Linked DNA regions of Homo sapiens: all the other regions are linked to region 4. Evidence: promoter capture Hi-C in 16 types of primary human blood cells and fetal thymus (Javierre and others, 2016). All regions are on one chromosome and are shown on one strand. The core of a region is centred on a gene start or on the middle of the fragment in contact, and the rest is flanking DNA. Distances in the headings are between cores, read along the strand shown.

What was found. Contacts are between HindIII fragments. The CHiCAGO score rates a contact against its expected background, and 5 or more counts as called.
Region 1: a contact is called between a fragment that was not itself captured here and the fragment with the promoter of EMP1 in region 4, in 3 of 17 cell types (neutrophils, erythroblasts and total B cells). The highest score is 6.5, in neutrophils.
Region 2: a contact is called between a fragment that was not itself captured here and the fragment with the promoter of EMP1 in region 4, in 15 of 17 cell types (megakaryocytes, erythroblasts, naive B cells and 12 more). The highest score is 13.2, in megakaryocytes.
Region 3: a fragment that was not itself captured here is called in contact with the fragment with the promoter of EMP1 in region 4 in 1 of 17 cell types (megakaryocytes); the score reaches 5.0 in megakaryocytes.

Annotation. Positions count from the first base shown.
Region 1 is chr12:12,937,896-12,943,849 of GRCh38, reverse strand. It overlaps GPRC5D (G protein-coupled receptor class C group 5 member D), which reads left to right. Exons shown (of 4, transcript NM_018654.2): 3 at 1,522-1,589; 4 at 3,001-3,275. The coding sequence ends at 3,075. The region is part of intron 1 of GPRC5D-AS1 (GPRC5D and HEBP1 antisense RNA 1); the gene reads right to left. Among named protein-coding and RNA genes, the nearest start is that of GPRC5D, 11 kb to the left of the region's middle. The HindIII fragment of the contact is 3,183 bases long and covers 1,869-5,051 here.
Region 2 is chr12:12,894,220-12,901,018 of GRCh38, reverse strand. All of the region lies in intron 1 of GPRC5A (G protein-coupled receptor class C group 5 member A), which reads right to left. Among named protein-coding and RNA genes, the nearest start is that of GPRC5A, 6.1 kb to the right of the region's middle. The HindIII fragment of the contact is 611 bases long and covers 4,289-4,899 here.
Region 3 is chr12:12,874,597-12,881,169 of GRCh38, reverse strand. It overlaps LOC124902881 (a long non-coding RNA gene), which reads left to right. Exons shown (of 2, transcript XR_007063214.1): 2 at 1,303-1,444. It also overlaps the pseudogene RPL13AP20. Among named protein-coding and RNA genes, the nearest start is that of GPRC5A, 14 kb to the left of the region's middle. The HindIII fragment of the contact is 4,362 bases long and covers 3,007-6,573 here.
Region 4 is chr12:13,195,149-13,201,570 of GRCh38, reverse strand. It overlaps EMP1 (epithelial membrane protein 1), which reads right to left and starts at 4,845. Exons shown (of 5, transcript NM_001423.3): 1 at 4,699-4,845. RefSeq lists an enhancer at 2,305-2,805. The HindIII fragment of the contact is 10,564 bases long and covers 1,104-6,422 here.

The sequences.
Region 1 (5,954 bases), core at 2,211-4,710, 260 kb after region 4:
TCATGAACTATAGCTAGAGCTGGAAGAATTAGGCTTTTCTAACTGATGATCTGGTTTGATGAGAATGTTGGCTGAAAGTTGGTTCCCAAGAGACTGAGTGTGAAGGAGCCTTGTTATGACACAAGGAATGAAGTTGAGCCAAGGATTCAGTTTGTTCTGCCATGAAGGAAAGACAAGCATTTCATGTATCACAGCATCAGCCCCTTTAAAAAATAAAAAAAATAAGTAAAAAGCCACTAGGAAGAGGATGTCAGAGCATCTATTATAACTGCAGCACCAGCACCACCACCAATAATCATACACAAAGGATAGCTCTGTTCCAAGGACTTTATATAACATTTTACATAATCCTCAAAGCAATCCTATGAGATAGACTTACTGTTATGACTGTCATTATTCCTCTTTTATTTCCATCAGGAAACAAAGGCAACAAAAGGTTAAGGAACTTGGCCCTAGGTAGGTAACACAAATGAGAGAGCCAAGCAGTCCTTTTCCAGGGTCCATCCACTCAACATGAAACCCCTAAGTGTGAACCCTACTAACACGGTTATGTCTGTGATCATCAAAAAACAACTAGGTATCCAGCAAGTACCTGCTCTTAGAGACAGGCACAGCTCCTGTCTTCACAGAGCTTACAGGCTGGTTGAGGAGGCAGCCATTAAACAAATACCTATGTCTGTGATGATCCTACAACAATATAGAATCGTCTCAAGTGATCTCTTTTATTATGCCCAATTTTAAAAATTGAATTCAGGTGAGACATGGTGGCTCAGACCTATAATCCCAGCACTTTGGGAGGCCAAGGTGGGAGGTTTGAGGCCAGGGGTTTAAGATCAACCTGGGCAAAATTTTTAAATTTTTGAAAAATTGAATTCAAGCTTGTAGAGAATCAAGCCTAAAGGGACTGTTGAAAAGAGTGAGATGCCCAAGGCCACACGGTAATACTGAGAGAGCAAGAACTGACTTGGAGCTAGTGGTCTCCCAACGCCAATGCGCTTCTCCTAAACACTCACACGCTACCCACGCTTTCTACATCAACTTTAAATACACTCCTTTAAATCATAAAGTTTTTCAATAACAGCTACAACTGATTGATAATTCCTCTTATTTATTTATTTATTTAGTCTCGCTGTGTCACCCAGGCTGGAATGCAGTGGCGTGATCTCGGCTCACTGCAACCTCCGCCTCCCAGGTTCAAGAAATTCTCCTGCCTCCACCTCCCAAGTAGCTGGGATTACAGGTGCACGCCACCACGCCCAGCTAATTTTTGTATTTTTAGTGAAGACGGGGTTTTGCCATGTTGGCCAGGCTAGTCTCGAACTCCTGACCTCAAGTGATCCGCCTGTCTTGGCCTCCCAAAGTGCTGGGATTACAGGCGTGAGCCACCGTGCCCAGCCTCAGAATTCCTTTTAAAGAGTGAAGAGCCTGTTTGCAAGCCATGGAGTTTTCCTGTAGTCCTCATGTGCTGTTTCCGATTGACTCTCGGACACTAACCCAGCCCTTCCCTCCTTTGGCTTTCAGCCCGAGACAGTGATGGAGCTGAGGAGGATGTAGCATTAACTTCATATGGTACTCCCATTCAGCCGCAGGTAAATGTACTCGCCTATATTCACCCAGGAGGGACTTAGCAAGCATTCCTTCCTTAGGACAGCCTCAGGCTTCATTTCTAATGGCTTTACTGACCTGAGAGAGGAGAGACAGAGCAGGAGCATCCCTAAAGGCATGTGGAGCTTGAGCCACCCAGATTTAAGCCAGACCAGGTGGCGCAAGACAGCTTTCACCCAAACCCTCCCAGTCTTCATCGCCATCAACAATATAGCATTCTGATGCAAGTGCGTGTCCCTGGAAAGAAAGGGCAGCTTGAAGCTTCTGTGTGAAGGTGAAGAGCAGCAGGCTTACCGAATTTTGCCTCGGGGACAATACAGGATTGTAAATATGTCTGAGTTTGGGGTCAGCTTTTAGTAGCAGTTGTCTGAACCTATCACCTGAGCCCCACTGACTGCCTCTCTGAGTCACTGTCTAGCTCCAGCAGCCCAGGCTGCCCTAAGAACTGGGCAGGGTATGTCATCATCATCTGGATGCCCAGATGGATGAACAAATTTTAATCCTTTCAGGCAAAAACAGAGGGAGCACTGCTGAGTAGTTTGGGGGTAATTCACATTTGGGCTGTGAAGACTTGAAGACATACAAATCTAAACAGCCAAAAACATCACACTGGGACACAATTCTTACATTACGGGGATCAAAAGTAACTAAAGCCCCAACGTGAAAGCCACCCTCAGATCATTTATTCAATGAATTTACTAGGCCACTAACTAAGCTAACCCCTCTGGTATGTTATCTGAGAATTTGCCTTTTCCTAGAATGACACATGGACCAGGCCATAACTATATCATGTGCTTTAATCAACCCTCAGGAGGGCATTTACATAATGAAAACATCTTTATTGTCCCCTCCAAGAGTTTCTTGGATTCATTTCAATTTCCAGTGATCAGCTATTCAAGAACCTTGCTTGCAAAAAGATTCTTGTTCGTGGCTAAGGGGTAGCCTGGTATAGGTAGGCTCAGTATGTTTCTTCTTTTGTTATTGACAAAGAATTAAATGAAGGTGAGATAATAATACTTCAAACATAACTTTAGGGCCTGGCACAGTGGTTCATGCCTGTAATCCCAGCACTTTGGGAGGGTGAGGTGGGCGGATCACTTGAGGTCAGGTGTTCAAAACCAGCCTGGCCAAAATGGTGAAACCCCATCTCTACTAAAACTACAAAATTATCTGGGCATGGTGGTGCATGCCTGTAATTTCAGTTACTCAGAAGGCTGAAGCAGGAGAACTGCTTGAACCTGTGAGGCAGAGTTTGCAGTGAGCCCAGATCACACCACTGCACTCCAGCCTGGGTGACAGAGCAAGACTCTGTCTCAAAAAACAAAAACATAACTTTGGAGAATATCATTTCTTTTGTTGCTCAGAAAGTTGATGATGGCATTTCTTCCTTTCCAGACTGTTGATCCCACACAAGAGTGTTTCATCCCACAGGCTAAACTAAGCCCCCAGCAAGATGCAGGAGGAGTATAAATCTACAGGAAACACAAGTGGAGAAAACCCAGCAGACCGTCCTGGGTAGCATAGCCCTGATAGCCCACGGGGGCCCACAGAGTCACGCTGCCAATGAAGAGTCAGCATCCCACCTTCTGTTTCCTAACCCCTCCATCCACCAGGACCCTCCACCAGAAGACCACCATTTTGAGCATAATTACAATCTTGCTGGCCACCCTACCTTGACTGTGTCTCTTTCTTCATTCGTGTAACTGCAAAATTCCCTTTCTTAGCAATGCTGGAAAAGAATTGGTGCCTCTTATTCACAGAACTGAAAGACCCTGTCTGAAGAAATTAAGGGCATTCTAATGTGACAACGAGGTTAGTAGCAGCTTACTACTGGGTCACATGTCTGGTCAATTTTTAAATTGTGCTAAAAAACACAGAACATAAACTTCACCATCTCAATCATGTTTAAGTGTACAGTTCAGTAGTGTTAATCATATTCACACTGTTGTGAATTCTCTAGAACTTTTTCATCTTGCAAAACCGAGATTCTCAATCCATTGAACAGCTCCCTCCAGCCCCTGACAGCCACCATTCTACTTTTGGTTTCTGTGAGTTTGACTACTTAGATACCTTATGTAATAGAATCATACAGTATTTGTCTTTTTGTGACTGGCTTATCTTTCCTAGCATAATGTCCTCAAGGTCCATGTCACATGTTGTAGCATGTCACAGGATCTCCTTTTCTAAGGCTGAACAATATTCCATTGTATGTCTATACCACATTTTTTTTTATTTATCTGTCAATGGACATTTGGGGTTGCTTTCACCTCTTGGCTATTGTGAATAGAGCTACAATGAACATAGATGTGCAAAAATCTCTTTGAAATCCTGCTTTCAATTATTTTGGTGTATACCCAGAAGTGGGATTGCTGGATCATATGATAATTCTATGTTTAATTTTTTTGGGGAACGTCCACACTGTTTCCACAGCAGCTACAGCACTTTACACTCTTATCAACAATGCACAGAGTTCTACTTTCTCCACATCCTTGCCAACATTTGTTATTTCCTGGGGTGTTTTTATTTTTGGTTTACAGTGGTCATCCTAATGAGTGTGAGGCATCTAGTAATTTTTTTGTAAAGGAACTCAAAATACGATAGGTCCAGAATTGTCTACAAAAGTTAAGGCCAAATCCTCAGGATCACCACAATTGGGCGGTTTAAAGAACACGGACATTGCCATGGACTTGCAAGCTGGCAGGCTTTCTCTCCTGGTGCTACCTCCCTGTGACAGCTACTTGGGCAGCAGACATGGCTGAGGGCATGACCTGCTTTGCTGAGCCAGTAACAGCAAAGGAAGAGACACCCCAGCAGATGCTCATAAAGGATTTTATGTGGTGAACATAAAAAGCATAGTCTGCCTGTCTTGATGTTTCTAATGAGCTGGTGCCTCTGTGCTAATTTTCTTGCCTTTGTTCCTCATCAGCCCCACATTCTTCTGAATGCTTTCATCTGCGCTTAATATTCGTTTGTTATCTATTACAAGAATAAGAGGACCAGAGTCAGAGGTGTGCCTCTAGAAGGGTCCCGGGGTCTGAGTCAGCTCTCTCACCTTGCAGATGAGAGCACGGAACTTTGGAGAACAGAATGACTTACCCAAAGCCACACAGTCATTAGTGGTGAGCCAGATTTTCTGACTCCTAAGCCTGTCTTCTTCCCCCGTCCACTAGGCTCCTCCATGCCCATATTTCTGTATGAGCAAGTAAGGTGTGTTCCCCTTGAGAACAAATGGAATATTTCAGACCCGTGAGTGTTGAGTGCCTGCTAACTGAAAGCCTTTTGAAAAATAACTACAGCTTTATACATGCAACAGAGCCTTTTCTGTGGCCAGTGGACACCATAAGCTGTTCAATAGCAATAAATATTTCCTGAGCATCTGCAAGGTACCAGGAACCATTCTAGGACTCAGCCCCAGACAAGGCGTACAACACTGCTTTAGCAAAGCTTGCATTTTTGTTGTAGAAGATCATACAATGCAGAGAATTTCAGGAACACAGTTCCTTTGTTTTTCACAGACAGGGAGAAGGGACTTGCCCAGTATAACATGGCTTGTTAGCACTAGAACCAAGACCAGAATCCAGGTTTCCAAACCCCTATCCAGTGCTCATCTCTACACAATGTTCCAACGTTTTTTGTTTTTTGTTTTTTTTTTCCTGAGACGGAGTCTCGCTCTGTCACCCCAGGCTGGAGTTCAGTTGTACGATCTCGGCTCACTGCAACCTCTGCTTCCTGGGTTCAAGCGATTCTCCTGCCTCAGCCTCCTGAGTAGCTGGGATTACAGGTGCCCGCCACCACACCCAGCTAACTTTTGTATTTTTTTTTTTTTTTTTTTTAGTAGAGACGGGGTTTTACCACATTGGCCAGGCTGGTCTTGAACCCCTGACCTCAAGTGATCCACCCACCTCAGCCTCCCAAAGTCCTGGGATTACAGGCATGAGCCACCGCGCCCAACCTGTTCCAACACTTTCGTATGTTTTTCTGCTGCACTAAAATTTGCTGCTCTTTTTCAAAATCTGTGCCATAAGCAATATTATCAGCACAACCCAGGACCTAGGTAAATGACAAAAATGTTTGACCTACTGCCCTTATTGATAATGAAAAACGGAGAAAAAATGTTTAAGCATTAAGCAATGCTTTGGTCTATAGATTAGGTGGCATCCACATGAAGACCCTAATTTGAGAGGTAGAAACAAGCCAAAAAAAGTCCACCTGTTGTGAAAGAAAACCATTATAACACATCCTCCTGATGTTTATCCTAATAATCATAATAATACCTTCAACATAATTTTGTTTTGTTTTGCAAGCAGGAGATGTTTCTACAGAGTTGGCTAACAAATTCTTAAAAACTC
Region 2 (6,799 bases), core at 3,345-5,844, 300 kb after region 4:
TTGCTGTCTTAAACCTTTTTGGAATGAATCTAGGCATGAAAGAAAGGGGTTTTTGGTTCTTTTGTTTGTTTGTTTTTTGGGTTTTTCTGGGTTGTTTTTTTTTTGTTTTTTTTTTTTTTTTTTTTTTGAGACGGAGTTTTTACTCTTGTTGCCCAGGCTGGAGTGCAATGGCATGATCTCAGCTCACTGCAACCACCATCTCCCAGGTTCAAGTGATTCTCCTGCCTCAGCCTCCCGAGTGGCTGGGATTACAGGCATGTGCCACCACACCCGGCTAATTTTGTATTTTTAGTAGAGATGGGGTTTCTCCATGTTGGTCAGGCTGGTCTCGACCTCCCGACCTCAGGCCCGCCTCGGCCTCCCAAAGTGCTGGGATTACAGGCGTGAGCCACTGTGCCCGGCCCCAAAAGAAAGGTTTAGAAAAACCAGTGGGGAAGAGGGAGAGGGAAGGGAAGAATAAGAACAAGAGGAAGAGGGAGGAAAGGAAGAGGAGGGCGAAGTCATTTCTTGGGTCAACTCCAAGCCCTCTGTTCCTCCTCCCCTTTAGGGAGAAGGGGTTTCAGCTGCCAGGCTGTGTGAACAAGTAAGTCACTTGACCTCTCAAAGCCTCCTCTCATCTATAAAATGCAGGACACGCTGCTGAACTACGTGGTCTGAACTCATGTTCAGCTCCACCGTTCACCCACCTGGGGAGCTTCATGTACAAAACTTCCAGATGTCTTTCTTTCTCCCCCTCATCCTCATTCTTGCCCCATCTCCTGTCATTAAAAGAGTATGTGCCACAAACTCCTACCCAAACTAAAAGCCAGGGCTAGAGGTAAGGTTGAAGGGTCTGAAGAAGAGACACAGCAAGGGACTGCCCACCTGAAGGACAAAGCCAGAGGCTCCTGGAGCAGCGCTGACCCTAGACATGGCCTTGACTGACACACAGCACTGACCACTGTGCAGGGAAAAACGTGAACATGTGATGAGTCTCCCGCTTTGGGTTTCTAACCTGAGACTCCTCTTCGCAACCAGAGAGATGGGGAAAGTGTGTAGAGTTGCTTGTGACTAGGCCTGGAAGTTTGCCCATGCTTATTCTACGCAGTCCTTCCCAGAGCATCTGAGAATGAATCATCTGGGGCCCAGAACCTTGCAAAGACAAACTGACTTTGTCTTCCTTCCTATGAGATTTCTCTCATTCTGTCAAAATGTGTCTTCGCGCCAGCCCAGCCCTGAAAATGTGTGACTTTCTAGCATTTTCATTTTTTCTCTATTCTCGAATTGCTACATTCAGTCAGTAGTAATAACAGTCATGATGTAATTATGAGTAAGAATAATGACAGCTACTGTCACCTCCTGAGTCCTATTATGAGTCAGGCACTATGCTGAGTAGTTATGTATTTTTACACATATTCTCTCATTTACATGCTTTTACATCCATTACCTCATTTAACATTCCTACAGCCCATTTTATAGGTGAGAAACCTAACAGAGTGAGGAAGGTACATGTCCAGTGTCACATGGTCAGAAAGAATAGCTCTTTATAAGTAGTCATAATCATAATTCAATCCTCCTTTTCACCTCTAAATCACTGTCATCATCTCTAGAGCTTTTCTCCCTGACCCCAACCTCTCTCCATTTAAACCACCATATATTCAAGCATTGGCTTGCTGAGAAGTCTCCAAAACAAGCAACCCTGGCCGGGGGCAGTAGCTTACGCCTGTAATCCCAGTACTTTGAGAGGCCGAGAGATGGGAGGACCACTCGAGCCCAGGAGTTTGAGACCAACCTGGGCAGCATAGTGAGACCCCCGCTGTACAAAAAGAAATTAAAAATTAGCCGGGTGCTAATTTAGCCAGGATCACACCTGTGATCCCCCTACTCGGAGGGTGAAGCAAGAGGATTGCTTGAGCCCAGGAACTCGAGGCTGCAGTGAACTATGATCATGCCATTGCACTCCAGCCTGGGCAACAGAGTGAGACCCTGTCTCAAAACAAAAAACTAAATAAATAAATATAAAATTGTGGCCACTGCCCTTGGAATGAATAATAATCACACTGACATACAACTAAGAAGTTATGGAATACATTAGGAATGCTGAGGGCACATGGAAAACAGTGACCCATTCTACCTAGTGGGGTTTTAAAATAATTATTTTTAATGTTTAATGCTTTAGGGAAGAAAGCAGGGAGATGAAACATGAAAGATGAACAGGAAATGGTAGGAGATTTTTATGAAGGTAGAAGAGACAGGGCTTTGGGAATGGAAAAGCCCAGGTTAACTCCCAGATTTCTGGCTTAGGCAACTGAGTGGCACCACTGTCAGAGCCTAGAAATACAGGCTTGAAAGGAGAGATGCTAAGTGTAGCTTTGTTGGCTCTTTGATAAATATGCGACCTGCACGTGGAGCTATCCAGGAATAACAAGTCAAAAGACCCAAGTCCTCTTGAGAGTTTCCTCTGAGCCATATATGGTTTCCTTTCTTTTTTCTTTTTTTTTTTCTTTTGAGACAAAGTCTCTCTGTCGCCCAGGCTGGAGTGATGCAATGGCACAATCACAGCTCACGGCAGCTTCGACTTCCTGGGCTCAGGTGATCCTCCTACCTCAGCCTCCTGAATAGCTGGGACAGGTGCGCACCACCACATCTAGCTACTTTTTGTATTTTTTGTAGAGGTGGGGTCTCGCTATGTTGCCCAGGCAGCTCTTCAACTCCTGAGGCTCAGGTGATCTGCCCGCCTCGGCCTCCCAAAGTACTGGGATTACAGGCACAAGCCACTGCTCCTGGCCATATATGGTGTTATTTAATCCTCACAACAACCCTATTATTATGCCTTCCTTTAACAGCTGAGGAAACTGAGGCACAGAGAAATTACATAACTTGCCCAAGATTACATGACTCTTAAAAGCCAGGCTCCTTGACACTGGGTTGTGCTGTCTCTGCACCGTGGGCATATGGGTTGGTGCTCAGGAGAGGTTTGGGCTGTAAGCACAGACTGGCAGTCATCACCTAGAGTGGTATCTGAAGCCTCAAGAGGAGACAAGATCACATGGGAAGCCAAGGACAGAACCATGTGGAGCACCATCTCATCTAGGTAGGAGTCCGCAAAGGAGGTTAAAAAGAAATTATCGGCCGGGCGCAGTGGCTCACACCTGTGAGCCCAGAACTTTGGGAGGCCGAGGCGGGTAGATCACCTGAGGTCAGGCGTTAAGAGACCAGCCTGGCCAGCATGGTGAAACTCCATCTCTACTACAAATACAAAAATGAACCAGGCATGGTGGCTCACGCCTGTAGTCCCAGCTACTCAGAAGGCTGAGGCACAAAAACCGCTTGAACCCAGGAGGCAGAGGCTGCAATGAGCTGAGATCACGCCACTACACTCCAGCCTAGGCAACAGAGTGAGACATGGTCTCAAAAAAAAAAAAAAAAAGAAGCGTATTCGCTCCTTTTTGTCTGTCACGGCAGATCCAGCCCCAGTTTGAGCTTCAAGGCCTTTCTCCAATTAGTCCTCCCACCTATCTCCTCCTTCCTCCCTAACTCCCGTCTCCACCTCCGTGCAAGGCAAGCAAATCTTCCTAGAGTTCTGTATTTTCCATCTGGAAGGGAATTTGGGTTCATTTAAGGTCTTCTCATGCTCTTTGCCTCAACACATGAATTATTCTCCTAACCAGAAAGATCCTCTCCCTCCTATTTATGATCCACTTACCATATTTCTGCAAAACTTTGCCCAAGATTTAACCTCTATCATGAGTTTTTTAAATTATTATCATTATTACTATTAATCCTATGGCCTTTTTTTTTTTTTTTTTTTTAAGACAGGGTCTTGCTCTGTACTCCAGCCTGGGAGTACAGTGGCATGATCTCAGCTCACTGCAGCCTCTGCCTCTCAGGTTAAAGCGATTCTTGTGCCTCAGCCTCCTAAGTAGCTTGGATTACAAGCATGCGCCACCACATCCAGCTAATTATTATATTTTTAGTAGACGCAGGGTTTTGCTATGTTGGCCAAGCTGGTCTCGAACTCCTGGGCTCAAGTGATCCACCTACCTCAGCCTCTCACAGTGCTAGGATTACAGGCGTAAGCCATCACACCTGGACTTGAAATCCTATTGCACTCTAAATGTGTCGATCTCTTCATGGTTTTTACAATTAAATATTTCTTGGCACTCAAGTTTTTCCATATCTTTGTTATATATTACAAATTAATATCACTGCTGAGCTGCCTATCAGACAACAAGCTTCTTTGTGGCATCTATCTCCTAGGAAGATAGGAAGGTGGCGTGAGGCACCGTGCCTGGCCAGACAACAAGCTTCTTAAGAAAATAGAGCAAACTTCTATTTGTTGGTATCCCCCTTACTCTGTACTCTACACAGTGATTGCTGAGCAAATGCTTTGGACTAAGACTGAGTGCTGAATATTTACCCAAAGCAAGTTATTTATTGGCAAGTGTGAGTAATGGGGAGGAAAATTTTTTGGAGATGAATATGTGCTGATGTTAATCCTCGTATTTCTACCCAGGCTGAGTTCTTCTAAGGGAGAAGTCCTACAGAAATCCCTCTGCCCTTGATAAAGGATTATTTATAAATGCAAAGCGTCTACAGGGAAATCTCCAGGATCCCCTATTCTGGGTAGCCATCCCAACTCTGATGACATAAAAGTGATGAATCATGGCAATAACTTATGAATAACATCTGAATAACATCACTGAATTGAGTTTCTATGCAATAATGAGAGAAAATAAGTCATCATAGCACCACAGGCAGATCAAAACAAGTATAACCACGGTGTTCATCCCAATTTCTACACTTCCAGATAGTTCCCTGGGCGTATTACCATCTTCCTGTTACTCTAAACGAAACATGTAGACTTGATTAATGTGAATATAAAATGAAATACTGGAAATCATCTTTTTAAATAAAGCTTAATATTTGAGTGAAGCTTCTAAATCTCTTATGCCCGAATTCAAAGAAATGAAATTTCCAGAAAATAGGAAAATAAAGTGAAGTCCTCTACTAGTATACTATCCTTTTTTTTTTTTTTTTTTTTTGTGAGACAGAGTCTCACTATGTTGCCCAGGCTGGAGTGCAGTGGCGTGATCTCGGCTCACTGCAAGCTCCACCTCCTGGGTTCACACCATTCTCCTGCCTCAGCCTCCCGAGTAGCTGGGACTACAGGCACCCACCACCACGCCCGGCTAATTTTTTTTTTTTTTTTTTTTTTGTATTTTTAGTAGAGACAGAGTTTCACTGTGTTAGTCAGGATGGTCTTGAACTCCTGACCTCGTGATCTGCCCGCCTCAGCCTCCCAAAGTGCTGGGATTACAGGTGTGAGCCACCGCGCCGGCCCTCTACTAGTATACTATCTTAAGGCTCTCAAAGATCCCTTCATTTAAATATCTTATTCTGATACATAAGGGTAATATTCACTGGATCCAACAAGTTCAAAGCTAAACTGATCACCTCTCCTTACAAGCCTATCTTTCAAAGCCCTGAGAATGGCACTACCATCTACTCAGTTGCTAGTAGATCTAAAAATATGATATGATATATACTGTCTAATGCAGAAGGAGATGGAGACAACCAAACCATATAGCCTAAAATTAGATGACAATAACAAGTAACTATTATTACAAGAAATGTAAATGGTAACTATTTTGAAAAAAAAAAAGACTAAACTATATCATACCTAGAAGAACCTAACCTAAAACAAAAAGATACACAAGAGTTAAAAGCAAAAGAACAGAAAGAAATGAAAATAAAAAGAAATACTAACATAATATTTATTTAACAAGTATTATGTGTCAGACACAAAGTTAAGTAAGTTGTTCAAGGTAAAATAATTAAGTAGAAGTTAAGGTTTTAATATCATACAAAGTTGTAATCAAAGCAAAAAGATATTATATTGACCAAAAGGCTTGTTTTATAATAATTAGGGATGCTCTACACTGAAGATAAAACCATCCTGGGCCGGGCACGGTGGCTCACGCCTGTAATCCCAGCACTTTGGGAGGCTGAGGCGGGCAGATCACGAGGTCAGGAGATCAAGACCATCCTGGCTAACACGGTGAAACCCTGTCTCTGCTAAAAATACAAAAAATTAGCCGGGCATGGTGGCGGGCACCTGTAGTCCCAGCTACTCAAGAGGCTGAGGCAGGAGAATGGCGTGAACCCGGGAGGCAGAGCTTGCAGTGAGCCGTGATCGCACCACTGCACCCCAGCCTGGGTGACAGAGCGAGACTCTGTCTCAAAAAAAAAAAAAAAAAAAAAAAACCATCCTAGACTTTTATGCACCAACTAATATAGCACCAAAATACGTAAAACAAAAAGTACTGAAGGCTGGGTACAGAGGCTTACACCTATAATCCCAGCACTTTGGGAAGTGAAGGCAGGAAGATTGCTTGAGCCCAGGAGTTTGAGTCAAGCCTAGGCTACATGGCAAAACCCCATCTCTACAAAAAATTTAAAAATTAGCCAGGTGTAGTGGTGGGTGCCTGTAGACCCAGCTACTCAAGAGTCTGAGGCAAGAGGATCACTTGAGCTTGGGAGGTGGAGGTTACAGTCAGCCAAGATTGTGCCACTGCACTCCAGCCAGGGCAACAGAGCAAGACCCTGTCTCAAAATAAATAAATAACTGCTGAAAATACAAGGAGAACCCAAAGGCAATACTATAGTTGCATGAGACTTTCATACTTCTTTACCAGTCCTTGGCAGATAAAATATACAATATGAATAAGAACATGGTAAAATTGTGTAAATGTTCTATGGATACTTAAATAGAAATATTCTCTATCTTCATATCTTATTAGATCTCCATTACTAATCA
Region 3 (6,573 bases), core at 3,938-6,437, 320 kb after region 4:
AATGGGTATAATAAGACTTGCTTTGCAGTAATATTAAACACATCAGCAATTATATTGGGGGTGGGGGAACAGGGAGGAAATAGCTTAGTGTCTGGCTCATGATATGGCATCAATAAGTAGTAGCATTAGATGGGAATAAGCTTGACCAGTGAAAAAACTGAAGTTCAGAGATACGGAATGATGTGTCTTAGGTCCCAATTCGGGTTGACTGGGGAGGCAGGACTAGAACCCAGGTCTCTAGACTCTTGTTCCTAGCATCCAGCTGCTATAGCACCCTAATTCCCACTTTAGTACCTGCCCAAGGATAACATTTTAGATAGCAAACTCTGCCATCCTGCATTTTGTTTTCTTTTTCTTTTTCTCTTTTGAGACAGGCTCTCGCTCTGTCACCCAGGCTCGAGTGCAGTGGCGCAACCTCAGCTCACCACAACCTCAGCTCACCACAACCTCAGCTCACCACAACCTCCATCTCCTGGGTTCAAGCCATCCTCCCGCCTCAGTCTCCCTAGTAGCTGGGACTACAGGCTTGCGCCACCACACCCAGCTAATTTTTGTATTTTTTGTAGAGTCGGGGTTTCATCATGTTGCCCAGCCTGGTCTCAAACTCCTGAGCTCCAGTGATCCACCCACCTCGGCCACCCAAAGTGCTGGGATTACAGGCATGAGCCACCGCGCACGGCCTAATTCTGCATTTCTTTTCTTTTCTTTTCTTTGGAGACGGAGTCTCGCTGTATCACCCAGGCTGGAGTGCAGTGGTGCGATCTCAGCTCACTGCAAGCTCCGCCTCCCGGATTCTAGCAATTCTCCTGCCTCAGCCTCCCGAGTAGCTGGAACTACAGGCACACGCCGCCACGCTCGCTAATTTTTTTTTTTTTTTTTGTATTTTAGTAAAGATGGGGTTTCACCAGATTCTGCATTTTTTTAGTCCTGCATTTTCTGCTTTCACCCAAAGGAAAAAAAAAATGAAAGAAATGTTACACTTGAGCTCAGAGACCAAGGCTCCCTATCTTCTGTAGTGCAGGGTTCATAACCTGGTGCCAATGACTGAATTGTGCCCCTCTAAAATTCACATCTGAAGTTTCAACCCCCAGTGTGATGGTATCAGGAGGTAGGGCTTTTAGGAAGTAATTAGATTTAGATGAGGTGATAAGGGTAGGATCCTTATGATAGGGGTTAGTGCCCTTAGAAGACACCAGAGAGCTTCCTCATTCTCTCTCTCTCTCTCTCTCTCTCCCTCTCTGTCTCTGTCTCTCTCTCTCTCTCTCTCTCCATATATATATATATCGTCCTTCTCATGCAAAGAAGAGGTCACGTGAACACACCAAAAAGATGGCCATTGTCCATGAGCTGGAAAGAGAGCCCTCACCAGAACCCAGCCATCCTGCACCCTGATCATGGACTTCTAGCCTCGAGAATTGTGAGAAAATAAATCTCTGTTATTTGACTACCTGTGCTATGGCATTTTGTTATTGCAGCCCCAGCAGACTAAGACACCTAGTGTCCATGGACCACACACACACACACACACACACACAGAGGGACTCAAGGATGGGCCTCAAGTTAAGAACCTTCTCCCTTGTGGTCAGAAATATATTATTTGAGTTCCGGAAATCCAGACAAGTCTGGACAACATAGCAAGACTTCATCTCTACTAAAAATCAAAAAAAGCTAGGCCGGGCACGGTGGCTCACGCCTGTAATCCCAGCACTTTGGGAGGCCGAGGCAGGCGGATCATGAGGTCAGGAGTGTGAGACCAGCCTGGCCAACATGGTGAACCCCCATCTCTACTAAAAATACAAAAATTAGCGGGGCATAGAGTCATGCTCCTGTAGTCCCAGCTACTAGGGAGGCTGAGGCAGGAGAATGGCGTGAACCCAGGAGGCGGAGCTTGCAGTGAGCCAAGATTGTACCACTGCATTCCAGCCTGGGCAACAGAGCTAGACTCCGTCTCAAAAAAAAAAAAAAAAACTAAAAATCAAAAAAATTAGCTAAGTGTGGTGGTACATACCTGTGGTTCCAGCTACTCCCAAGACTGAGGCGGGAGGACCACCTGAGCCTGGGAGCTCAAGTCTGCAGTGAGCTGTGATCATGCCACTGCACTCCAGCCTAGGCACAACCCCAAGAAAGAAAAGAGAAGAAAAGAGAGCATTTTCCATGCCCATGGCTTTCATCACGTTCTCAAAGGAATCCATAGAGAGTAAAAAGGTTAGAAGCACTATGAACCTGTATCCCTTCACCTGTGTACCTGCCAGCATAGGCCAGGTTTGCCTTAGAAGGTGCACCTGGCTGTTGATGTTAAAGGCTGCCTCTCCAGGTGACACAAAGGGGCTGGTAGGGATAGGCCAACACAGGGCAGAGGAAGACAGGGCCCATCCAGGGGGAAAAACATTTCCCTATGTCAGTTTTTGTTTTTGTTGTTCGTTTGTTTAGACAGAGTTTCACACTGTCCCCCAGGCTGGAGTGCAATGGCATGATCTCAGCTCACTGCAACCTCTGCCTTCCCGGTTCAAGCAATTCTCCTGCCTCAGCCTCCTGAGTAGCTGGGACTACAGGCGCGCACCACCATACCTGGCTAATTTTTGTATTTTTAGTAGAGACGGGGTTTCACCATGTTGCCCAGGCTGGTCTGGAACTCCCGACCTCAAGTGATCCTCCCCCCTCAGCCTCCCAAAGTGCTGGGGTTACAGGTGTGAGCCACTGTGCCTGGCCCCTATGTCAGCTTTTTATCGGAAGCCTATTTGCTTACTGCAGGAAAAAATATATATATTTTATCTATAGACAGTAGGATTTTTTTTCCCTTTCACTAAAATACACCATGGAATAGTCATCAGAAGGAAACTTTTGTTTTTAACCAGTATTGTTTCTCTTTCATGATAATGACATCTGATATCCAGAGCTTTTACAGTTTCCAAAGCCCTTGTGCTTGCTTTGTCTTGTTTTTAATCTTTACAGAAACTCTGCAGAGCAGATGCTATTAGCCTCATTTTATAGATGAGGAAAGAAGCTTGGAGAGGTTAAGTTACCATTAGAAAGCGGTGCGGCACCACCCGGCCCAGCCCTGACTGCAGAGCCAAGTAGTCTTTGCTGCATCCCTCTGCCTCCAGAGAGGCCCTCTGGCCCTGCAGGTGGCTTTAACATTAGAGGCTGTGGCCCCTGCCATCTCTCCCCCTAGAGAACTGTGCGGAGGCCCCCGCCCTGCTGAGCTCATTTGCAGCTAATGTTGCCCTGAGGCCTTGGTAAGTTACACAGTCTGCTTTTTAGACTGTTAGGTTTGGCAGGGACTGCGGCTCTGCCCTTAATTTCTCTTTCCCAAGTGAAAATAGCTGATGAATTGACTTCGCTGAGCCGGGCTGGCATCTCTTAGCAAATGTCTCCATTCACAGCTTGTTTTCCATAATTCATGTTTGGTGCTATTATTGTATTTCTACCCATTCCGAGATGTAGAACAGAACTATCAAATGGCCGTGTCTTTATTTGCTATTAGTCAGGGACTTCATTTCTCGGGATCCAGCTCACCTGTAATCTCAGGGCTTCTGGCAGGCAAGGCTACTCTTGTCTAGAACAAGCTGGGAAGGAGATGCTCTCAGTGCCAGGCCTCCTGCTCTCCTCCCCAGTTCCACCCCACTAATTCCAAGTCCTTCCCCATATCTCCTCTGTCCTCTGAGCACCTTCTTCTCACTTCTAACCTGCTCTTGTTTACACTAACAACTTCTGTTGAGCACCTTCCTTATTCCAGCGCTTTATAGTCATTATCCAAACCCATTTTATGCTCCCAGGAAGAAGCTGATAAGCATATTCATGGCAAGGTTTATAAGACAGATAAGGTTTAATGGGCTAAACCCAGGGCACTTTAGAGGAAACCAGAGACCTTCCAGCATTGTAAGCCAGGTGAGGAAAGAAATGTATGCCTCGGTTTAGTTTTGGTTGACTGGCAGTTTCTTCCTATAAGACCTTGAATTGTGTTAAGGATTCACCTGTTCCTCTTTTGCAAGACTGTCTGGCAAGTGTCACTACTCATTTCAGTTCAGTGCAGTGCTATATATTAAGCATCTATTATGTGCAGGGCATTGCACTAATGTGGCAATACAAAGATCTCTGCACAAAGGAGGCTCCCGGACTCCTGGAACTAAGGAAAGGTAATAATGACATTTTTCAGAGGAGATTTTGTTTGTTTCTTTGTTTGTTTTTTGAGACGGAGCGTTGCTTTGTCGCCCAGGCTGGAGGGCAGTGACACGATCTCGGCTCACCACAAGCTCCGCCTCCTGGGTTCACGCCATTCTCCTGCCTCAGCCTCCCGAGTAGGTGGGACTACAGGCACCCGCCACCACGCCCTGCTAATTTTTTGTATTTTTAGTAGAGACGGGGTTTCACCATGTTAGCCAGGATGGTCTCGATCTCCTGACCTCGTGATCCACCTGCCTCAGCCTCCCAAAGTGCTGGGATTACAGGCGTAAGCCACCGCACCCGGCCCAGAGATGTTTTAAGGGCTTCTTCAACTCACTACAGGTTCAGAGTGACTGCTTTACAGACTTAAGTTATAAAATAAGCCCAAAGATAAGACACTAGAAAAAAGAATGAACATACAAATGGAACTAATTTATAAACATATACAAAAAGTTAAGTCCCCTCTCTCGGTTACTGTAACCACTCAAGGGGTTCACCTTGCCCGCTACATAGACAGACCAATTCATCAAGACAGGGAAATTGCAATAGAGAAAGAGTAAATCACACAGAGCCAGCTGTGCAGGAGACTGGAGTTTTATTCTTACTCAAATCAGCCTCCCTGAGCATTTGGGGAGCAGAATTTTTAAGGATAATTTGGCAGATGAGGGGAAGCCAGTGAGCCAGGAGTGCTGATTGGTTAGAGATGAAATCGTAGGAAGTCGGAGCCGTCTTCTTTCAGAGTCAGTTCTGGGTGGGGGCCACAAGATCAGATGAGCCAGTTTATTGATCTGGGTGGTGCCAGCTGATCCATCAAGTGCAGGGTCTGCAGAATATCTCAACCACTGATCTTTTTTTTTTTTTTTTTTTTTTGAGGAATTAACAGTCTTTATTGGGCTCAGACCAGGAGTCCGTGGGTCTTGAGGACTTCTGTGTATTTGTCAATTTTCTTCTCCACGTTCTTCTCGGCCTGTTTCCATAGCCTCATGAACTGTTTCTTCTTCCGGTAGTGGATCTTGGCTTTCTCTTTCCTCTTCTCCTCCAGGGTGGCTGTCACTGCCTGGTACTTCCAGCCAACCTCGTGAGCCAGGCGCCCCAGATAGGCAAACTTTCTTGCAGGCTTCAGACGCACAACCTTGAGGGCAGCAGGAACCACCATCCGCTTTTTCTTGTCGTAGGGCGGTGGGATGCCGTCAAACACCTTGAGGCAGTCCAGAGCGGCCTGGCCTGGCTTGGTCTTGTGGGGCGGCATACCTCGCATGGTCTGCCAGAAGATGCGGCTGGGGGCCTGGAGGGGGTAGGGGCCTCGGGAAGGGTTGCTGTTCATCCGCTTGCGGAGGAAAGCCAGGTACTTCAACTTGTTTCTGTAGAAATTGCCAGAAATGTTGATGCCTTCACAGCATACAACCACCACCTTCCGGCCCAGCAGTACCTGTTTAGCCACGATGGCCGCCAGGTGGCCCAGGAGATGGCCTCGACCATCAAGCACCAGGACCTGTACCTCCGCCATCTTCGGCAGCCGCTTGGGAAAGAAGCACTGATCTTAGGAGCAGTTTAGGGGAGGGTTGGAATCTTGTAGCTCCAGCTGCATGACTCCTAAACCATAATTTCTAATCTTGTGGTTAATGTTCATCCTACAAAGGCAATCTAGTCCCCAGGCAAGAAGGAGGTCTGCTTTAAGAAAGGGTTGTTACCGTCTTTGTTTAAACTATAAACTAAGTTTCTCCCAAAGTTAGTTCGGCCTACACCCAGGAATGAATAAGGACAGTCTGGAGGTTAGGAGCAAGAGGGAGTCAGTTAAGTTTGATCTCCTTCACTGTCTCAGTCATACTTTTCCAAAGGCAGTTTCAAGCTGATTTTCCGCTGTGAGTACTTCCTAAAGGAGCCTGATCTCTCACTGGTACGAGTGACCAGAGGAGGCCCTGCAATGGCAAGCAGGAGGGGGAAAACAGAAAGGCCTAGAAAATCAACTCCAACTGTTTGACAGCGTTGCTTTGAGATGCAGGAAATGAAGAGTGATTGGAATGGCCCGGTGTGATGGTTCACGCCTATAATCCCAGCATTTTGGGAGGCTGAGGCGGGCAGATCACTTGAGGTCACGAGTTTGAGACCAGCCTGGCCAATATGTTGAAACCCTATCTCTACTAAAAATACAAAAATTTGCCGGGCATGGTGGTGCGTACGTGTAATCCCAGCTACTTGGGAGGCTGAGGCAGGAGAATCACTTGAATCCGGGAGGCGGAGGTTGCAGTGAGTCGAGATTGCACCACTAACATTCCAGACTGGGCCACAGAAGGAGACCCTGACTCAAAAAAAAAAAAAAAGAGTGATTGGCAAAGCGCCCTGCAGTGCCTGATGTTATTATTAGTTCCTCTTTCACATTCCTCTCTCAGGCCTTCAAATTCCAGTAAC
Region 4 (6,422 bases), core at 3,596-6,095:
CACGTTGCCCTATTTCACTTTTCTATCAATTTTTACAGATTAAGCCAGCTGCTAGCATCAGCGCAAGGGATATCTCAAAATAGAAATGGTAGGATCTTAATTTTTTTGTTTTTCGTTTTTTTGGTGTTTTTGTTTGTTGGTTTGTTTTGTTTTTGTTTTTTTTGAGACAGGGTGTTGTTTCATTGCTCAGGCTGGAGTGCAATGGTACAATCATAGCTGACTACAGCCTCAAAGCCCTGGGGCTCAATCAATCCTCCTGCCTCAGCTTCCCAAGTAGCTGGGACTACAGGCATGCACTACCACACCCTGCTTTTTAAAATTCTTCTTTTAGAGACAGGGTCTCACTATGTTGCCCAGACTGGTCTCAAACTCCTAGGTTCAAGTGATCCTCCCACCTCAGTCTCCCAAGTAGCTGGGATTACCACGCCTGGGTGAATCTTAGAATCTCAGAGCCATAAGGGGTCTGAAAGAACCACCAAGTTCAACTTCCGAAAGCAAGAAGACAAGTGTCTCGCCTGTGGTTACATGGCAGCGTCAAGATAACACCACTGCCCCTCTGTCTTCCTAGTCAGCTGTCTTACATCTGCTCCAGGATTCTTGCCACGCTTTCAACCTGTGCTGAAAGGGCTCTCTAGTTTAACTACCCGGTTTGAAGAAACAATTCATGAAACAGGCTCAGCAAATAGAAAAACTGTCACAGCCACGTAAGTCCAAGCGCACCAACAGCAGAGGATTCCATTGCAGTTCCAGGGAAATGCCATCTCCACAACACAAAAGAAAACCTTGACCCAAACATTTTGTTAAAAAGGAAGAGAGAAGCAGCAATCACCACAGGTGTTTGTGCTTTCATCTTTCTGCTTTAGTATCAGTGAATCTCCCAGGTAAATTGAAGGAAATGGTTTTACCCAGGCAGGACACCAGGGACTGAATTGTTGCAAAGAGCAGTCTCAGGACGTGTGTATGTCGGGGCTGGGTGCTGAAGATTCAAGTAAACCCCTAACTGGAACCATATTTGGGCTTCCTTGATTACTGAATAGCAAGTGCAGTCCAGAAATTCAAGATCACCTGGGCGGATCTGGGAAGAGTATTAGAAAAGGGAAGCTTATGGTGAGAAAATTCCCGTTCTACGCTGGTTAAGGGTTAGGAGCTCTTCTCAAGGGGCTGATACCCAGATTGCTGGCCAGCAATTACAAGGAGGCTACATTTGATGGGCAGCCTGTTCCCGTAATTACTATGATGGGTGGTGACAATGTATAGGTGTGGGCTACATGAACTATGGACCAAATTATGGGACAATCCCCAAAAGGCCTAGCTAGAAGCCTGTGTCCTGGTATTGGATTGATCTAACCATGACCTAGTAGGTAGCAACACTGGGTGTGTCCCTCCGAGTATGTACATCTGAGAGTCCCAAATAGGCCTGAGCTTTTGTGTTAGGCAGCTATGTACATACATGTGGGAGGTTAAAGAAGGAACCATATTCATGCATTTAGAAAATTAAATACCTCCAAATCAAAAACCCCGTGAGTATGATTGACTATGTACATAATTCCAAACTTCAAAAATGCTCCCTGCCCTTCTGAGCCTTAGGCAAAAAAAAAAAAAAAAAGAAGAAGAAGAAGAAGAAGAAAAGATAATGCAATGTAGATCCATCAAGTTGTATTCATTAAATATTAAATAGGCGTTAAGTGTTTAGAGGATGAGAATCATTGGGTGGAGCAACAACAAAACCAGAATAGATATTTTCTGAGTTGTTTCAGGCCAGCAGAATCAGGAAGTTATAAGGAAGTTGATTTTGCTTGATTTAAGGAACTTTAATAAAATTAGAGTTGGCCTGCTAAGGGGAATGAGTGTGGAGGTACACACTGAGGTTCTGAGCTCCCCGCATCTGGAAATTTTAAGATCTGTAGGATGGCCATCTGTTCAAGATGGTGTAAAAATTAGATTTCTGCATACAGTAGGAGAATGAATGAGATCCAAGATCCCTCCCAAATTTAGAATTCTGTGAACGAAATGAAGGATGAAATGGAACTGACTTGCCTCCTGCCCTTTCCTGTGTCCACGTTTCAGTTATGTGCCCCACCAGGCTCCATAGAGTCTACAGAAAAGCAGTCTTGCCTCATCCACAAGTTTTCCCCGGTCTTCAACGTGTCTCTCTCCAGTAGTCCCTGTGGGTCTGGCACTACCTGAAATCCCTAGAGCCACCCAGAGCAAGCCAAGAGGGTCTACATTCCCGGGTGAGGGGTCTCCATGAAGCCCACTGACAAGGCTGGGAACTTGATGGGCCTAATCTGGTCTCTGGAGGAAGCAGGAAGGGCTGAGGAAGGCACAGTGAGTCCTTTCCACTCTCCACAGAAGGGATCTCTTTCCTTTCCCCAGCGGTCTGCCCAGCAGTCCTGGGAGATAGCCAGATTCTAAGGATGTGATTTGCTCCAAGTTGGTTCTTGATGGCCTTTTGCCAACTCCCAAGACAGTTTAGTACCCACAAACAATGTAAATGTGGGGGGCCCTCTGACCAGGGCGCCAGACAGGATGTCCTGCAGCCCCCGCCCCCGCCCCATTCTTCGGAGTCTGGGTGGAATTGGATCTGCCCCTGAGGGTGGGAGGCAGCGGGCAGAGTGGGGGGGAAAAATAACCCTCACATTTCGGGATTGTCAAAGCTGAAATCCAGAAAAACTCTCACAGCTAAGGGACTCTTTCACTACTTCTTGGAGGAAGAGCAGAGAGCAGGAATCAGAACGGTATTTTTCTAAATTGTCTTCAAACTCCAGGAAGTAACATGTAGCATATTTTCTCCTTTATAAACCTACAGTATCATGTGAAACCTTGCCACAAATAATGCAGTTCATGATGGTTTACACTCCCAACATTGTCAGGGCTTTCCGTGTGTTGACTGGTTATTAGTTTTAACCTGCACAGAACTAAAAGATTTGTATAATTTTCACAGGATATTAACACTATTGATTTAATAATGGCTAATCCACATCCATGTAATGTGGAAATAATAAACATGTGAAGCAAATGTAGGAGTTCCCTTCATCTTGAAAAGTTGCCCTGATGCCTACTCAATCGTCCCCCTTGGGGCAGTTTTACAAGGAGCATTGCCTGCTCAACACAGGGTTGATTACATGTAACTTCTCTCCCAACGTACTGCCTTTCTAAAGGAAAAGCCTAACTTTGTCAGACAAGCTGAATCCTGTCATTCTCATCTTGTTTACTTGGGGAAAAAATATACCAGTGTCTATGTTGAAATGGGCCACACCTCGGTAGACACTCACCCAAAATGCTAACCGAAAAAAAGAAAAAAAGAAAAAAAAGAAAAAGCACCCTTCTTCATTCCTCCAGATTTCATGATTAGCATGAGTGTTTGCATTTATACAATCACATTTCGGGAACAAGAGAAAAGATAAGCATTTCAAAACAATCACTGCCTTCCATGCAAAGAAATTCCACATCCACTTTCTTTTAAAAGTTCTTTTATCGTTTCTGGTATGCCATCTTTTCACTCAGCACTGAAAGGCAGCTCTTTCTGGGGTGAAAGCACAAAGCCACTCAACAATTTTTAACAGGCACAGATGAAGTTCTCCTGCCCCACCCTCTTCTCCAAACCCAGCTTCCCTTTTGCCTCCCCCGCCCTCCACATCTGGCCAAGAGAAGGCATCTGGAATCCTCATCAGCTCCTGCTTCGACCAAGTGAACCCCTCCCACGTTTCATTTAAAACACCATTTGCCTCCCTCTCTTTCTCTCTCTAACAGTTTTCTTTTTTCATTTTTTTTCTTTTTCTTTTTTTTCCTTTTTGAGACAGAGTCTCACTCAGCTGCCCAGGCTGGAGTGTAGTGGCGCAATCTCAGTTCACTGCAACCACCATCTCCCGGATTCAAGCAATTCTCCCGTCTCAGCCTACCAAGTAGCTAGAATTACAGGCACCTGCCATCATGCCTGGCTACTTTTTGTATTTTAGTAGAGACAGGGTTTCACCATGTTGGCCAGGCTTGTCTTGAACTCCTGACCTCAGGTGATCCGCCCGCCTCAGCCTCCCAAAGTGCTAGGATTACAGGCATGAGCCACCGTGCCCGGCCAACAGTTTTCTTTAAACAAACCAATCCCCCTCTTCCCATCCTGTGAGGAGAAAAAAAATACTTAAATTTAAACAGAAGTGAATAGGGAAGCAAACAGGCAGGAAAAGCAATGTCAAAAATAAACTGAAAACCAGTTATCTATCCACCACCACCCAAAAAATCCCAACCAACAACCAGCGAGCAGAGTAACAGTTCAAGTCCTGAAGCAATCGGAATCAAAACGGAGGAGGTGAAAAACATCTGGCCAGTTCCCGATGTCATTTCCAAGGTGTGTGGTGTTTCCTCCATAAACAGGATCCTATCCCAGTTTGTTTCAAAGTCCCTGCTCCCTCCACATCCTAGAACAAGAACCCGGTCACTGCCAGGCACGATTTTAGCCCCATCCCATTGATTTCCCCAGACTCCGTCCTCAAAATACACTTTTCTGAACTTTCTAGAAAAAGTTGTCTCTGTATCCACTTTGAGCCAAAAGTTTCAAGGACTTGGTTCTTAGAGGATCATAGAAAAATAGCGAAGGAAGAAAAGAAAAAGCAAAACTAAGATGAGGTCAGAAGAAGCAGAGCCGTGGAAAGGAAGGAGAAGTTTTGCTGAGAGTCCCCACAGCGTTGGGAGCTGTCCTACCTGAAGGGTCCCAGCGACAGAGGCGCTCTGAGTGGCAGGTGCTGGCAGCAGCCCTGGTCCGCTCTTCTGGAAGTATGTGACCGCACTGAGGGGAAGGACCTGCCTCCCGAGGTTATAAGTTTCCTCTGCTGGTGTACTGGGGTGTGTAATGGGCGGTTTCTTTTCACCGTGTTTTAAAGGAGTTTCTATGAATCAGTCTGGCTTTAAAAAAAAAAAAAAGATTTGTTGGTAAGCTACGCCCTGCTAAGCTGGCAGTCAGTCAAGAGTGGCTGGGAGTGAGCCATCAATTCAAAGAACCCTGTTGTAGGCTCTCTCTGACTCAGACACACAGACCACAGTGGAAAAAAGGAGGGACATTGCTTCAAATGAGTAACAGGATCACACAAATAGATCTGTTTACTGAAGCCCATTCCTCCTCACCAAAAAGGAGACTTGGTTACCATGGACATAAGGCAAAACACAAGGTTTCAGCCTGGGAGGGGGAGGAAAGGGGCCAGTGTCCTGCTGACTGAAGTCCTAGGTCATCATCAAGCGAGATTCCCAGTCTTCCTCCCCCATTAAAAGCATCAGCTGCTGCTCACTGTCAGGAATTATCAGATTCCTTTTTTTATTTACTTCCCTGCCTGACCCTGGTGCACTGTCCTGTGGGTGGCTGTACAGGGAGGCCCTGAAGGCGAAGGGGACACACTAGGAGCTCTTGCAGCCCTGCCTCTGAGTGATGGAGCACTGATTGAACAGCAGAGAATTCCTGGTCTTTCATTATGCTCTGCTAGTGCCCGTGTGGACTCTCCACATTCCAGGAGGAAGTCCTCTAGTTAAGAACTTTGCTCTCTGTAATAATCAGCTGGACCTTGTTCTACAATTGACTTTCTTGAACTTGGCCAGTAGCATAATCATCCCTACTACCTCCCTGCACCACTCCTCTCTCTCTCTCAACTCTGGAGCTGGGAGAGGCCTGTGAAGTCATCTCATCCCACAGCCCAGGCATTCCACTGGAGAGAGTAAAAGCCCAGATGCCTGAGTTCAAGCCCAGCTCTCCACAAATTTGCTGTGTGACTTTAGGCAAACCACTTAACTTCTCCATGCCTATTTTCTCATGCATAAAATGGAGATGGCAGGTATGTAACTCATAGAGCTATGATGAGAAATACACATATAGGGGCTCATGGCAGTGTGCATAGTGAGCGCTCAACAAATCTTAGCTACAAGGATTATTTTACTGAAGAAGCAGCTCAGGCCCAGAGAGGTGAAGTGACTTATTCAAGGAGATACAGTACGTTACCAGTAGCAGCTTGGATCTAGGTCAGCACATCCAAGCAATTCTATTTCTGTTATTCTCTGCTGCACCCTGACAACTTATTTCAATTCAAAATATGCGTGTGTAGTATTTATTCATTCATTCTGCCAATACAGGCTGCACGTCAGTCTTCACTGGGCCTGATTCAGAGCACTGAGTCACAGAAGTGAATGACATCCCTGCCTCTTGGAACTTATATTCCCTAAAAAGATAGAAAACAGACTGGTGGCTATTCACCAAAATGTTGATCAAATTCGATGATAAAATTATGGATGCAGTTTAGTTTGTTCTGGTCACAATTCTGTATTTTCCAAATCCTCTGCAATGAACCTATATTACTGTCTTTAGGATGTTGGCATGTGGATGGATGGATTTTAGGAAAAAATATTTTAACATGGGAATGTGGAGAATATTTTCTAAGGTGGAT